Regions from separate parts of the Homo sapiens genome. Here all the other regions are linked to region 1. The links are contacts of gene promoters, found by promoter capture Hi-C in human tissues and cell types (Jung and others, 2019). All regions are on one chromosome and are shown on one strand. The core of a region is centred on a gene start or on the middle of the fragment in contact, and the rest is flanking DNA. Distances in the headings are between cores, read along the strand shown. Region 1 holds the start of EFNA4 (ephrin A4). Region 2 has its middle 50 kb from the start of ADAR. Region 3 has its middle 78 kb from the start of ADAR. Region 4 overlaps KCNN3 (potassium calcium-activated channel subfamily N member 3).

What was found. Contacts are between HindIII fragments. The study calls those that stand out against the background at their distance.
Region 2: a fragment that was not itself captured here is called in contact with the fragment with the promoter of EFNA4 in region 1 in 1 of the 25 tissues and cell types used here (spleen).
Region 3: a fragment that was not itself captured here is called in contact with the fragment with the promoter of EFNA4 in region 1 in 2 of the 25 tissues and cell types used here (IMR-90 fibroblasts and dorsolateral prefrontal cortex).
Region 4: a fragment that was not itself captured here is called in contact with the fragment with the promoter of EFNA4 in region 1 in 1 of the 25 tissues and cell types used here (adrenal gland).

The regions. Positions count from the first base shown.
Region 1 is chr1:155,062,490-155,065,871 of GRCh38, reverse strand. EFNA4 (ephrin A4) reads right to left here and starts at 2,132. Exons shown (of 4, transcript NM_005227.3): 1 at 1,936-2,132. The coding sequence starts at 2,048. ADAM15 (ADAM metallopeptidase domain 15) reads right to left here. Exons shown (of 23, transcript NM_207197.3): 23 at 3,097-3,382. The coding sequence ends at 3,370. It overlaps EFNA4-EFNA3 (EFNA4-EFNA3 readthrough), which reads right to left and starts at 2,132. Exons shown (of 5, transcript NM_001407761.1): 1 at 1,936-2,132. The coding sequence starts at 2,048. DCST1-AS1 (DCST1 antisense RNA 1) reads left to right here and starts at 1,881. Exons shown (of 4, transcript NR_040773.1): 1 at 1,881-2,115. It also overlaps ADAM15-EFNA4. RefSeq lists an enhancer at 680-1,181 and silencers at 1,672-1,821, 2,112-2,261, 2,642-2,731. The HindIII fragment of the contact is 5,150 bases long and covers 1-3,382 here.
Region 2 is chr1:154,655,995-154,659,376 of GRCh38, reverse strand. No RefSeq gene overlaps it. Among named protein-coding and RNA genes, the nearest start is that of ADAR, 50 kb to the right of the region's middle. The HindIII fragment of the contact is 9,513 bases long and covers 1-3,382 here.
Region 3 is chr1:154,684,633-154,688,014 of GRCh38, reverse strand. No RefSeq gene overlaps it. Among named protein-coding and RNA genes, the nearest start is that of ADAR, 78 kb to the right of the region's middle. The HindIII fragment of the contact is 4,265 bases long and covers 1-3,382 here.
Region 4 is chr1:154,765,646-154,769,027 of GRCh38, reverse strand. All of the region lies in intron 3 of KCNN3 (potassium calcium-activated channel subfamily N member 3), which reads left to right. Among named protein-coding and RNA genes, the nearest start is that of KCNN3, 100 kb to the left of the region's middle. The HindIII fragment of the contact is 3,402 bases long and covers 80-3,382 here.

The sequences.
Region 1 (3,382 bases), core at 883-3,382:
AGTCCCAGCTACTTGGGAGGTTGAGGCAGGAGAATGGCGTGAACCCGGGAGGCGGAGCTTGCAGTGAGCCGAGATTGCGCCACTGCACTCCAGCCTGGGAGACAGAGCGAGACTCCATCTCAAAAAATAAATAAATAAATAAATAAATAAATAAATAAATAAATAAATAAAGGCCATGAGTGGTGGTGCACTCCTGTAGTCCCAGCTACTTGGGAGGCTGAGGCGGGAGGATCCTTAGAGTCCGCAAGTTCCTGTAGTGAGCTATTATGCCACCGCACTACAGCCTGGGTGACAGAGCAAGACCCTGTCTCTAAATTCTAAAAATTAAAAAAAAAAAAAAAAAAAGAATGAGGGAGTGGGTGCTAGGTGCCTCCCTTTTTTGGCCAGGAGGAGCAAGTGCCAGGCATGGGGGGAGTCCACATACTACCCAGTCTTCAGTCTTCTCAGGACTCCCTTCCCCACCTCTTGGGAGCTGCCTGGGGAAGCCAGCACAGGTGGGAAGGGCTGGAAGGGGCTGCTCCCCACAGTACTGAATGCTGCATGAACCACCCCCCATACCACAAACACAGCGAAGCATGACTTAGGAAAAGCCTCCAGTGGGTGGTCCAAGGACGACCTGTATCAGTTCTGATTAGAAATGAAGATTCCTGGGCTCAGCCAGCCCAGACTTACTAGAACGCAAGCTGAGCAAGGACAGGGCCTTGGTAAGTTTTGTTCTACTGCATCCCCCGTGCCTGGAAAAGTGCCCAGCACAGGACAGTGTTCAATAAATATTTGTGGATTGAATGAATGAGCCAGAAACCTTAAGATTGGGGGGTGAGAAACCTGAATTTTTAACAGGTCCTCCAAGTGATTCAGAAGCTTTGGTCTGTGACAGAGATAGAGAATTCAGAGTCCAAGGACAACAAAAGCTCTTATCACTTGTTATTGGTATTGTAATGACCTGTCTTTATGCAGGCTCTCCTGCCTGCGCCTGTTCTCCAGAGAGTCTGTGGAATCCCAGAGGGCAGGGTCTTGATCTTCTCATCTATATAGTTAATCCCCTGCAACCTAGCACAGGGCCGGGCACACACAGTATGTGTTTAATAAATAAATGTTAGTGAGTGAAGAAATGAATAGTCACAGATTGTCTCAAGTAGAAAATCAGAAAGAAAAACAGATAGGAAATAGGAGAGGCAGGGAGACTTGGGGAGGGGGATGGAAACAGTAAAATATACTAAGGTTCAAAGGCAGGCAGCTCAGGAGAGAGAAAGAAATAATAGTTTATATCTGTACAGCCTGAGCCTCTTTCACATACATGACCTCACTTACCCTGCCAGACTTCCCAGGGTACTAGGTATTATTAGCCCATTATACAGGTGAGATAAATGAGGTTAGGAAGGTCACGAGACTTGCCCAGAGGTGATTCGGCTAGAAGGGCAGGGCTGACACTGGAAAGAAACAGAAGGACCAATAAAGACAGAGATGAAAGCAGAGATAGCAAATGAGATCAGGAGACAGAGTGAGAGCCAGAGGTGAGACCCAGCGGGCAGGAGAGTAACCCACGCTCTTTCATAAGAGTAAAGCCCCCTCCCTCGCTCTCAAGTTCGTCAGCCACAGCTCCAGCCTGCGGGAGGCTGGGGATCGCCAGGAGAGCAGCGAGGGGGGCGGAGCCCGGAGTGCGGGCAAAGGCCCCCCCAGCTCCATGCTCCAAGACCCCCTAGACAACCCTTGGGGCTGGGGTCTTCTGCCTGCCCCCCAACACATGCGGGCTGTGGGGAGACCCAGGGCGCGCCTCGCCCCTCGCCCCTCCCCCCTCCCCCGCCGGCTCAAACAAAGGAGCCCCGGCGCGCGGCCAGGCTCAGGCGGCGCCGCGCAAAGAGCGGGTGGCGGGCGCGCGCAAAGCCCGGGAGCGCGCAGACTTGGCTGTGCGCTCGCCCGGTTCGGCCCGGCTACCTGGGGTTACTGGAGTTCCAGTAGACTACGTGGCGGAGGCTGGAGCCCCCGCGCAGAGGGGAGCCGAGGAACGCGGCCCAGAGGACAGTCCGCAGCAGGGGCAGCAGCCGCATCGCCCCCGAGGTCCGGTTTGGTCTGGCCTGGCAGGTCCCGGCCCGCTTCACAGTCGAGGAGAGAAAGGTACAAAGTGAAGAGGGAAGTTGCGGAAAGGGGAGTGGGGTACGGAGATTCACTGACCCCGCCCCTGAATAACTTTCCGCCAATGGGAGCGCGTCTCCTCCTCTCCACCCAGCGCCAACTCCAGTTAACCCTCTGTGCACCGCAGCGCGCGCCAGGTTCGCCAAAGCTTCCACTGAGGCTGCACCGCACTGCGAGGGGGCGGGAAGGAAGGACGTATTCCAACAGCAGTATTTTTAGGGAGGTCATCTCTTTCGTGTCTGCTTTAGTGCAGGGTAGACTGCCTTATTAGAAGTTTGGAAGATTTTAAATAAGGGTACATAACCTTTGCCCAGATAGGGGAAAGTGAGGCGCGGGCGAGGATCCATGAAGCCTGTCCAACCACCTTCATGCACTGCCCCGTTTTCTTTGCACATCTAGGGACAGTGCAAGCGGAAGGGACAACACAGCTCTGGGACCACCTTCCCTAAAGAGCCTTAGGTGGCGCGCTAGATGCTCACTTTAGGATTGGCGTCTGTCCCTTGCCGCTCCACACCTTCGTTCCGGGCTGGGGGCCCACGCGGCCCCAGTCCCTAAGACGAAGTAATGAGGTGGTTGCGGCCTGTACAAAGCACCTTTGTTCCCGATCCCTCAGGTGGCGGCGGCGGAGGGGGAGGAGGCAGGTGCGCGGCCTTGGGATCGTGGGAGCAGCCGCCGCCCCGCTCCGCCCTGGCTCCTGGGCTCTGGGAGCATCAGCCAGATCCACTTTTCCCAGCCAATGGTCAGAGTGGGGACGGCAGGTCCAACAGCTTGACAGATTGCGCCGAAAGCCACCCCAGTCTGGGCAGAGGGAAGCTGCGAGCATCCCGGGGACACACGCCGACCCTTTCTGGTACTCCCGCCCCACACAGCCCGCCCTCGTCTGAGGCGGCAGCGTCTTCTGGCGGCCAAACCTGGAACCGCAGCAGGAGCGACCCGGGTTCTAGAAGCAGACAAACTCTGGGGAACGCTCCCAAGATGTCACGTTTATTGCAACTGAGCAGAGACAGGCTGTGCGGACCTTCCTCAATCCCGTCCAACCCCCAGCCCCTCCCCAAGCCCCCGCTGCAACTACGCCGGCAGGTCCGCAGAGTGTTGCTTGACAGCGCGTGGCGGTGCCCGGAGTCTTAAGACACCGCCAGTCTCTGGCGCCTTCAGTCATGGTAGGGGACTCCAGAGGGCACGCCCGCCTCTTGAAGCCCTAAGTCCGGCTTGGAGGCAGCGGAACCTCCGGAGAGGTCAGAGGTAGAGC
Region 2 (3,382 bases), core at 233-2,732, 410 kb after region 1:
AACAATTCCAAGCCAAGAATGTAAAGTGGTCCCAAGTTTGGTGTGTCCCTAATGTACTTAGCAGAGGAAAAACAAATCCTTTCTAATGGAATACACCTTTAATGTAAATTTTGAAGATTATTCACAGGTGCAGTTCCAACAAACATGAGATCACAATGAAAATTACAGGATACATATGAGGAAAAGACACCATGTGAGAAAGTCAGCAGAGAGGCCGGGCGCAGTGGCTCACGCCTGTAATCCCAGCACTTTGGGAGGCCGAGGGGGGCAGATCACGAGGTCAGGAAATCGAGACCATCCTGGCTAACACAGTGAAACCCTGCCTCTACTAAAAATACAAAAACAAAATTAGCCGGGCGTGGTGGCAGGCGCCTGTAGTCCCAGCTACTCGGGAGGCTGAGGCAGGAGAATGGCGTGAACCTGGGAGGTGGAGCTTGCAGTGAGCTGAGATAGCGCCACTGCACTCCAGCCTGGGCGACAGAGCGAGACTCCATCTCAAAAAAAAAGAAAAAGAAAAAGAAAGAAAGTCAGCAGAGAAATTAACAGCAAAATCAGACTCGCAAAGACTTCAGCATTGACGTGACCATATGAAGTAAAACAAATGAGGAATTGACAGGTTTTTAAGAAGATTTTAAAACATGATAGAGGAACAAGACTATAAAAATGACCTTGATATGAAAAAATGTCAAACATAAATTGTAGAAATAAAAAACAAAATTGCCGAAATTAAGACTTCAACACCGAAAAGGTTGGAAATTAATAACTTTAAATGCTTATAATTTAAAAAGTAGAGAGAATAAAAATAATGAGCTAAATCTCCAACTTGGGAAATCAGAAAAAGAACAGCAGAATAACCATGAGGAAAGTAGTAGGAAGAAAAAAATAACAATAAGTAGAGAAAGTAATGAAACTGAAAACGGAGGATCAACAAAGCCAAAATTGATTCTTTGAAGTTGAAAGACTTCTGGAAAAATTTAAGAGACAGAGATAAACAGCATGTACAGATAAGCAATACTGAAAACTGAAAACGAGATAAAAATCTATAACTATGGTTATAGTGAACATTTAAACATAAAAGTATAAACAAATCAATGCTAATAATTCAAAACTTAGATGATATGGAAAACGTCCTAGAAAATATAATTTACCAAAACAGATTCAAGACTAGAAAGGCAGAATGAATAGCTCTATAATAATTAAAGAAATTCAATCAGTATTTAAAGTGTTCCCGCAAAGAAAATACCAAGCCCTGATATTTTCCAGGTGAGTTATATGAAATTTTCAAGGAGAAGATCATTCCAATCTTATAGGAGTTTTTGTGGACGATAGAAAAAGAGAGAATACTTGCCAGCTCAGTTTTGGAGGCATCTCTCGCTATTTCTGTGAGGTCTTTACACATGATCTCTCTAGTATGGTGGCTTCAGGGTAGCTAGACTTCTTATGTGTTGGCTCAGGTCTCCCAAGATGCTTGGAGAGGGTGTGTGTACGTGTGGAGAGAGATAGAGACAGAAACGCACACACACACACACACACACACACACAGAGAGAGAGAGAGAGAGAGAGAGAGAGACATGATATGAGAAGTGCTAGCCTTAGACTTGCTTTAGCCAATGCAGAGTGAGCAGAAGTGACAGACTCCCAGCCAGAAGCCTAAGAGCCAGTGCATGCTTCTCCAAGTTCCCTTTTCCCTCCACAACTGGCAATGTTCTACAGTAGCTTCCCTTTCAGGCTGAGCCTCAAAGTAAGAATGATGAAAATGTGGAACATTCTAAGGATTTTAGAAGGTGAAAAAACAGATAGAAAAAAATTAAAATGTGGAATAGAGCCCCCTGACTCATGATGAACATGTAGCATGAGGAAGAAATAAACTTTTTTGGTTGTTTTATTGCCATAACACAACCAGTCTTTCCTGACTGGTATGGGCACCTGGGAATAATTGCAGTACTGATACAAAGAAGATCATGATGCTTTATTGAAATACATTAAGAAGAATTAAGTAAAAAGAGAGAAATATTATCAATGGCTAGAAAGTCTCAATATCCTAAATTCTCACCCAAATGTCTCATAGATTCAGTGCCATTTCTATCAAAACTTTAAAGTGTTTTTCATAATTTTGACAAGCCAATTCTAAAATATATGTGAAAGAGCAAAGAGCCAAGATGATCCAAGGTACTCTCTAAAAAAGAATAAAATCAGCAATTACATTCTTGGGCATTTATCCCAGAGATATGAAAAGTTATAGTCACCCAAAACCTATGCTCAGATGTTTATAGCCACTTTATTCATAACATCTCAAAACTGAAAATAGCCCAAGTATACTTCAATGGGCGAGTGGTTAAGCAAACTGGTATATCCATACCATGGACTAGGATTCAGTCATAAAAAGGAATGGGCTATTAATACGTGTAACAATCTAGATGAATCTCATGGGAATTATGCTGAGTTGAAAAAAAAAAGCCTATCTCAAAAGGCTACATACAGTATTATTTCATTTATATAACATTACTTAAATAACAAAATTATAGAGATGGAGAACACGTTAATTGTTGTCAAGAATTAGGAATGAGGGGAAGGGGGACTGGTTGTGGCTATAAAGGGGTAGCACAAGGGAGCCTTGCAATGATGAAGCTGTTCTTTATCTTGATTTTGGTGGTGGTTACACAAATATATACACATAATAAATTTGATACAAGACATGAATATAGACACCCAAGAAGTAAAATAAACTAAAGAGACCCACTCTGAGACACATTGTAATCAAACTTTTGAAAGACAAAGAGAGAATCTTGAAAGCAGAAAGAAAAAAGCAACTTGTCACACACAAGGGATCCTAATTAAGATTATCAGAGAACTTCTCATGAGAAACTTTGGAGTCCAGGAAGCAGCTGGCCAATATATTTGAAGTGCTAAAAGAAAAAAAAAATGTTAACCACGAATCCTACATCCAGCAAATGCATCCTTCAAAAGTGAAGGAGAAATTAAGACATCTCAAGATAACCAAAGCTAAGAAAGTTTATTACCAGTAGATCCACCCTACAAGAAATGCTCAAAGGGGTCCTGCAAGGCAAAATGAAAAGACACTAGACAGTAACTCAAAGCTGTATGAAGAAATAAAGATTTCAATAAAGGCAAACGCATAAGAAATCATAAAAGCCAGTATTATCGTAAAAATGGCTTATAACTCCACTTTTTATTTTCTATGTGATTTAAGAAATTATTAGTCTAAATGTTATTATAACTTTGGTTTGTACTTCACATTTTGTTTTCTACATAATGTAAGAGACTAATAAATTTAAAATAATTATAACTTTATGTTTTGGGGCACACAATGTATAAAGACACGATTCTGTGATATCAACAACCAAAAGGGGTGGGGAGAGAA
Region 3 (3,382 bases), core at 523-3,022, 380 kb after region 1:
GAGAGGCAAATTGAACAATGGAACACAATAGAGAGCTGATAAACAGACTCACACATTGATGGAAACTTGATTTATTATTGAGCTGGCCTTGCAAATCAGGTGGGGAAGAAAAGTGGGATATTCAATAAATGATGTTGGAACAGTAGTTACCTAAACTTACATACAAAAATTAACTCTGGTTGAATTAAAAGCATAAATGTAAAGAAAAATTGTGATACTTTTCAGAAGGCAATGGAAAACATTTCTTAAAGAAGACTCCAAAAGCTCAAATCCTAAGGGGAATGATTGACAAATTTGCGTAGATTACATTAAGCCCTTCTGTTCCATAATTTTTTTTTAAGTGAGCAGACAAGCCACAAATTTGGAGATGTTTGCAATTCATATAACTTACAAAGTCAAGCAATTCCCCCTCCGAGGGAAAAATAAAACAGGCAAAAGCAAGGAACAGGGACTTCACAGTAAAGGAATCACAAATGGCCATAAACATGAAAAGATGGTCAACTTCATTAGCAATCAAGGAAATGCAAATGAAATCACAAAGTACCACTTCCCAACCACTACAGTGACCAAAAAAACTCCTGAAAATCAGACAATACCAAACATCGTATATGGAGCAACGGGACCTCTCACCTACTACTAGTTGATGTGTAATTGGTATAAGCACTTTGGAAAACCATTTGGCATTATTAAGACAAGTTAAATATGTGCCTATCTAAAGACACAGTATTATTTGCAAAACAAAACCCCAAAACCAATAGACTTAACCCAAATCAAGAATAGGATGGATAATAATTCACTGGATGAAGAGTCATCCAAAGGAATATGATGCAACAACGAAAATGAAATAAATGAACTACAGGTGTGTGCATCAGCAGCCGTGACTCTCAGTCACACAATGTTGAGGGAGGAAGCAAGCCAGGGAAGATGGCTTGTTTTGCATACAATCTGCATGTTCCAGTGGTGTGATCTTCAAACACAGGCAAAAGTAAATAATAGGCTTAAAGATACACATATTGGACCTCATGGGGGAGGCACAGGGATGAGGTTGGGGAGGGGTGCCAGGGGAATTCTAAGCTCCTGAAACTGTTCTAGTTCTCAATCAGGGTAGGCAATACACAGGTGTTCACTTTATTCTCCTTTAACTTGGATAAGGATGTGTTTATACACTCTTTCATATGCCTGCTATACTTTATGGTTTTAAAATTTCTTAATAAAGCAGCATCCTAAAAATGCAGTTTTCCCTCTGGTCCAGTGTGGCTGACTGGCATAGAGAGTGTATTTGCATCTGAGGTCGCTGGGAGGAATGACCTGACACCAGTGAAGCTGGCAGAGCTGCAGGGCACACTGGAGCCTCTGGCCATCTGGAGTTCAGAAGACAAGACGTCCACACTTCAGTTAGAAGCAGACCTTTATCTCCAGAGGACTTTGATGTTGAAGATATGACAGAAGCTCCTACAAACTGAGAAGGGACAAAGGAGAAAACAGTCCCTGCAAGTTTCCATGAGGAAAAAGAGCCCTGCTTAGTCTGGGATTGGAGTCAGCTAGACCAGAATTCTTTTTTCTTTTTCTTTTTTTTTTTTTGAGATGGAGTCTTGCTCTGTCGCCCAGGCTGGAGTGCAGTGGCCCAATCTCGGCTCACTGCAAGCTCCGTCTCCCGGGTTCACGCCATTCTCCTGCCTCAGCCTCCCGAGTAGCTGGGACTACAGGCACCCGCCACCACACCCAGCTAATTTTTTGTATTTTTAGTAGAGACAGGGTTTCACTGTGTTAGCCAGGATGTAGACCAGAATTCTTATCTTGACTTAGGTATTTACCAGCTAGTAACCTTCTTGGAGAAAGTTGCTTCAACTCTGAGCCTCAGTATCCCCATCTGCAAAAGGGGAATAATGATGGGACCTTTGCCAGAAGATTGCTGTGAAGATTAAATGAGAGAACATATGTGAGGTCACCTCCTACAGGCACACACAGCCGAGCCTCATGTTGCTTGTGTAGAGCTGCTTGTTATTTCCAAGCTTTGTGTTTTACCCAGAGGGAGCTGACTTACTTAACCATTGTTTCTTTTCATCTAATGATGGCGATTTCTAGTCTCTGCCATATCTAGCTCCAACTGATTCTCAGCATAAAATAAGGAGGGCCGGAAATCTCAACATAGTGTCCCAAGGCCTGCAAATCAAGAATGTGGCTGGCACAGCTCATATTATACCCATGGAATCTAAGCACATCATGCACTGTGATTAAAAAGAGGCTTTACTGCTTCAATCTTGATCATCCTCCCAACCATCAAGAAATCGTTAGAACTGACAAATATCCCAATATAATTTTGCAGAAATCTGAATTTTTAAAAGAAGGCCATTAAAAAGTTGAGCCCAGGCAGAGCATGGTGGCTCATGCCTGTAATCACAGCACTTTGGGAGGCCGAGGAGGGCGGATCACGAGGTCAGGAGTTTGAGACCAGCCTGGCCAACATGGTGAAACCCTGTCTCTACTAAAAATACAAAAATTAGCTGGGCGTGGTGGCGGGCACCTGTAATCCCAGCTACTCAGGAGGCTGAGGCAGGAGAATTGCTTGAACCCAGGAGGCGGAGGTTGCAGTGAGCCAAGATCGCACCACTGTACTCCAGCCTGGGCGACAGTGCAAGAATCTGTCTGTCTAAAAAAAAAAAAAAAAAAAAAAAAATCGAGCCTGGAACATAAAGGAAAACTCTGCGGCCCTGGGGAGGTGGCAACCCCTTGTTGCTGCTGAGGAGGCTCTCAGAGGCCTGTGTGTGCTGCGTTGCCTCCCCACCTCACCCCTACAGAGCGCCCCCCACACTTGTAACCCCGGCAGGTGCACAGCTCCTCCCCACAGCTCTCAGCCCTTCTGCCCACCTAACCCGCTAGTTAGTTAGGCCCCTCTGCCATCTTCCACCGAGTGGGGACTGGCACAGAAATGGATTCTCCCCAGTCGTGCCTCCATATCCTGCACTGTGAAAATACTCTCTTTTCTTCCTTTCCCCCCAAATGAGGTAAGTCTGTGAAATAACAACCACCATGCATTCAACTCAACAATCTACTCTCTTCTCTCACCAAAATTGCTGTGATGCTTCTGGCTAAATGAATTATAAATTATGATCTCTCTTTTCTTCAATATGTCAAAATTCTTGGAGCCAAAAAGATGGGCTTTTAAATAAGAACCATCTAGAGCTCAAATTATACTCTCCTCTGCCTGAAAATTCTTCAGGGGCTCTCCCTGCCTGCGGGATAAAGTCTAGATTCCTTGGCATGATTTCTTTTTTTTGTTTGTTTTAGGTTTTTTGTTGTTGTTGTTGTTTTTGAGACAGAGTCTTGCTCTGTCACCCAGGCTGGAGTGCAGTAGTGCGATTTCGGCTCACTGCAAGCTCCG
Region 4 (3,382 bases), core at 531-3,030, 300 kb after region 1:
TGGAGCCAAAATCTGAACTGGTTTCTGACTCTGAACTTCCATGTGTGTGTCACCAACCCAGGCTGAATCCTGCACATACGAGGAAATCTTGGCCTCTACTCTACTGGCAACTTTCCCAATCTCAGAGTCTTAAGGCCACTGAGACTAACATGTGAATCCCAGTCTTGCTGTTTTCTCTGCCTCTGCTGCCTATGGTCTTGACCATGTTATCATACTAGCCTCCTGGGCTGCCTTCATGTCCAATTCAAACACATCCATGTAGTGGATGACATGTTGCTTCATGTCAACATGAAGGGGACAGATGCCCCCTCCAGGACCCGGGCTCTCCTTCCCTTAGCTGGGGTTGTGACTGAGTCCCTCTCTTCAGGTCAAACCCCTTGCCTGGGGGCAGCAAGCTCCCGAGGGGATTTGTCAGTGTGGGAGTTCAAAGGCCTAACCCCGTTTGCTTCTAGTAGGACACTCAGCCAGGCTCCAGGGTCCCTGAGGGATCGCCTAAGGCCTCTGTTACCACTGCATCCGGGAACTTCCTCTATACCCCAGAGGTATTGATCCTGAGAGCAGCCCCAGTAAAACTCCCACCCCCAAATCTCAGCATCTCACAGACTGTTTCCCAGGAATCTGCCCCGTTAATATATTGTTTCCTAAACAGGCAAAGCACTTCTCTTACCAAGACTAAGCACTATTTTTAGAATCAAGCTTAAATGATCATTCTGTTTCCCAATGTCAAATAATAAGTAAGATTGGCAGAGGCCTTCAGCCAGGACTTATTCAGCCAGAGACTGGACAGAAGCTGGAAGCAGGGGAAGCTTTGGGGAACTGAAGCGTCAGACCAGGGTAGTGTGGACAGGATGCCTTGATCTCTCTCAGCCTGATCTAATGATGATTCTATCACCTTAGGCATCAGAGAGGGTAAGTGACTTGCCCAGGGTCACACAGCAGCATGACAGGTTCTAGAAAAATCCACAGCTGCTGATGCCCAGAGCCTGTTCACATTCCAGGTAGCTTTCATCAGCCTGGACTTATCTCTAGTTGTATACACACACTTCTGAAGTTGCTATGGAAATCTCTCTACAGCAAGATGTATTTTAAAAGACAGTTCTCATATCTTGGGTTGGTTTTTATGTGACAACAAAGGTTTTTCATATTTCCTCCTCCCAAGGAGAGAAAGTGGGATCATAATTACGCAGAACAGCCGTGCCATGGGGAGGGCAGCGCCTGGTTGCTGGGAGGGCAGTGACAACAGTGGGCTTGTTTTCCTTGGCCCCCAGAGAGGCATTACATCATGGGTTCCGAGGCCTGACAGTTGTGGCACTCTGCATTCTCTGGGATTCTCCTGGCTGCCTGCCCACCTCCCTCAGGGAGGAACCTCCTGATTTTACACTGTCAAGTGCCAAGCAGCTTTACTGGTGGAGAGACCATCTGAGGCCCCGGGTCCTCACTGCGGCAGCAGGTTGGAGAGCCAGCCTTCCTAGCGTGCCTTGAGCAGTGCAGTGGCCTGCCAGCTCACCTTTGTATGTTTATCTCCTTGGGAGGAGCAACAAGGCCTCCCATAACATTGATGAAGTGGGGTGAGCCTTGCTGTCACAGCCATGCTTTATAAATGACCTTACTGTCCTCTTGAGTGGATTCCCTTCGGACCCTTTGGACCCTTCACTTTGGTCCCTCCTGAGGCTCCAAATTCTGCAACAGGCTGTCTCAGTGTCCCAGGCCTTCCAGTCTGTCAACAGGTTTTTTATTTTGCTGGTTAACTTTTGGCATACTGATATTTTAATGAGAAATTTTATTCTGGAGATCTGGCTCCTAAAGCAGGAGAAAAACAATTTGTGGCCCATTCTTTCTCTCATTAAGAGAGCCACCACTCCCATTGTAAGGAGATAAAAAGAGGCTTCCTTGCTGTACTCTCTTCTGCCCCTGCCTCAGACACCCAGGCCTGCACTTGCCAGCAGCAGGAAGCAAGACCACAGCTCCCTCCTCCTCCCATCTCCTTCCCACAACCTCCTACCCCCTCCAAGAAGGGGTACTTCCACTCCAAGAAAACAGTAGGAATGGCCAGGCTCGGTGGCTCACGCCTGTAATCCCAGCACTTTGGGAGGCCGAGGCGGGCAGATCACGAGGTCAGGAGATCGAGACCATCCTGGCTAACACGGTGAAACCCCCGTCTCTACTAAAAATACAAAAAAATTAGCCGGGCATGGTGGCACACACCTGTAGTCCCAGCTACTCGGGAGGCTGGGACAGGAGAATGGCGTGAACCCAGGAGGCGGAGCTTGCAGTGAGCCGAGATCACGCCACTGCACTCCAGCCTGGGTGACAGAGCCAGACTCCATCTCAAAAAAAAAAAAACAAACCCCAAAACAAAACAGTAGGAAAGTGGTCATTACAGGGATGAAGCACCCTACATGGGGTTGATGGAAGCCTGCAAGCTAAACCCTGTAGGCTGAGCAGAACTGAGCAGAGCCTGGGAACAGTGGGGCCAGGCACTGTGGTTCCTCATGGACTGCTTTGGTTTGAGTTATAACCTCCAATGTGGGGCACACGCACAGTGATCCATGGGACTATTGGGAGAAATGATCAGAACTTCTACATATATATATATATATATATATATATAAAGCCTGGCTAGTATTTAATAAATGGATAGAGAGCAATACATGTCTGTAATTTATAATAAATATATGTATAATGGAGGAGGGCATGCTCAAAAAATTTTTAATTGGTAGGAGCCCATGATTTTAAAAGTTTGCAAACCACTGGTTTATGATATCAGAGGACTAGTTAGAGAGGATAGGAAAGTAGCCTACCACATGGGATGAAGCCTGCTAGACCCAGGAACCCTGCCCTCTAGCTGGAGAAGTGAGAAGTTAGCCTCCTGTAGGGAAGGAGCAGCCTGTAGCGATCCCCTTCTGGTGCCAGGCGGAGAGATAGATGGCTGGGGAGGGGGAAGGTGGGGAGGCGACAGGGATCCTGCTGGAGGCCTTTGAGAAAAACCTGCAGCATTAAGGAAGAGGAAAATAATCCTGAAGATTCCTGAAAAATGTTTAATTATGAAAAACAAAAAGCAACATTAGAAGAGTCTTGGGTGGCCAGGCACAGTGGCTCACGCCTGTAATCCCAACACTTTGGGAGGTCAAAGCAGGTGGATCGCTTGAGGTCAGGAGTTGGAGACCAGCCTGACCAACACAGCAAAAACCCATCTCTGCCAAAAACAAAACAAAACAAAACAAAAAAAAACCAAAAAAAACATTAGCCGGGAGTGGTGGTGCATCTGTAGACTCAGGAGGCTGAGGTGGGGGGATCACCTAACCTGGGAGGTCAAGAGTGCAGCGAGCAGAGATTGCGCCACTGCACTCCAGCCTGGGTGACAGAGTGAGACCCTGTCTCA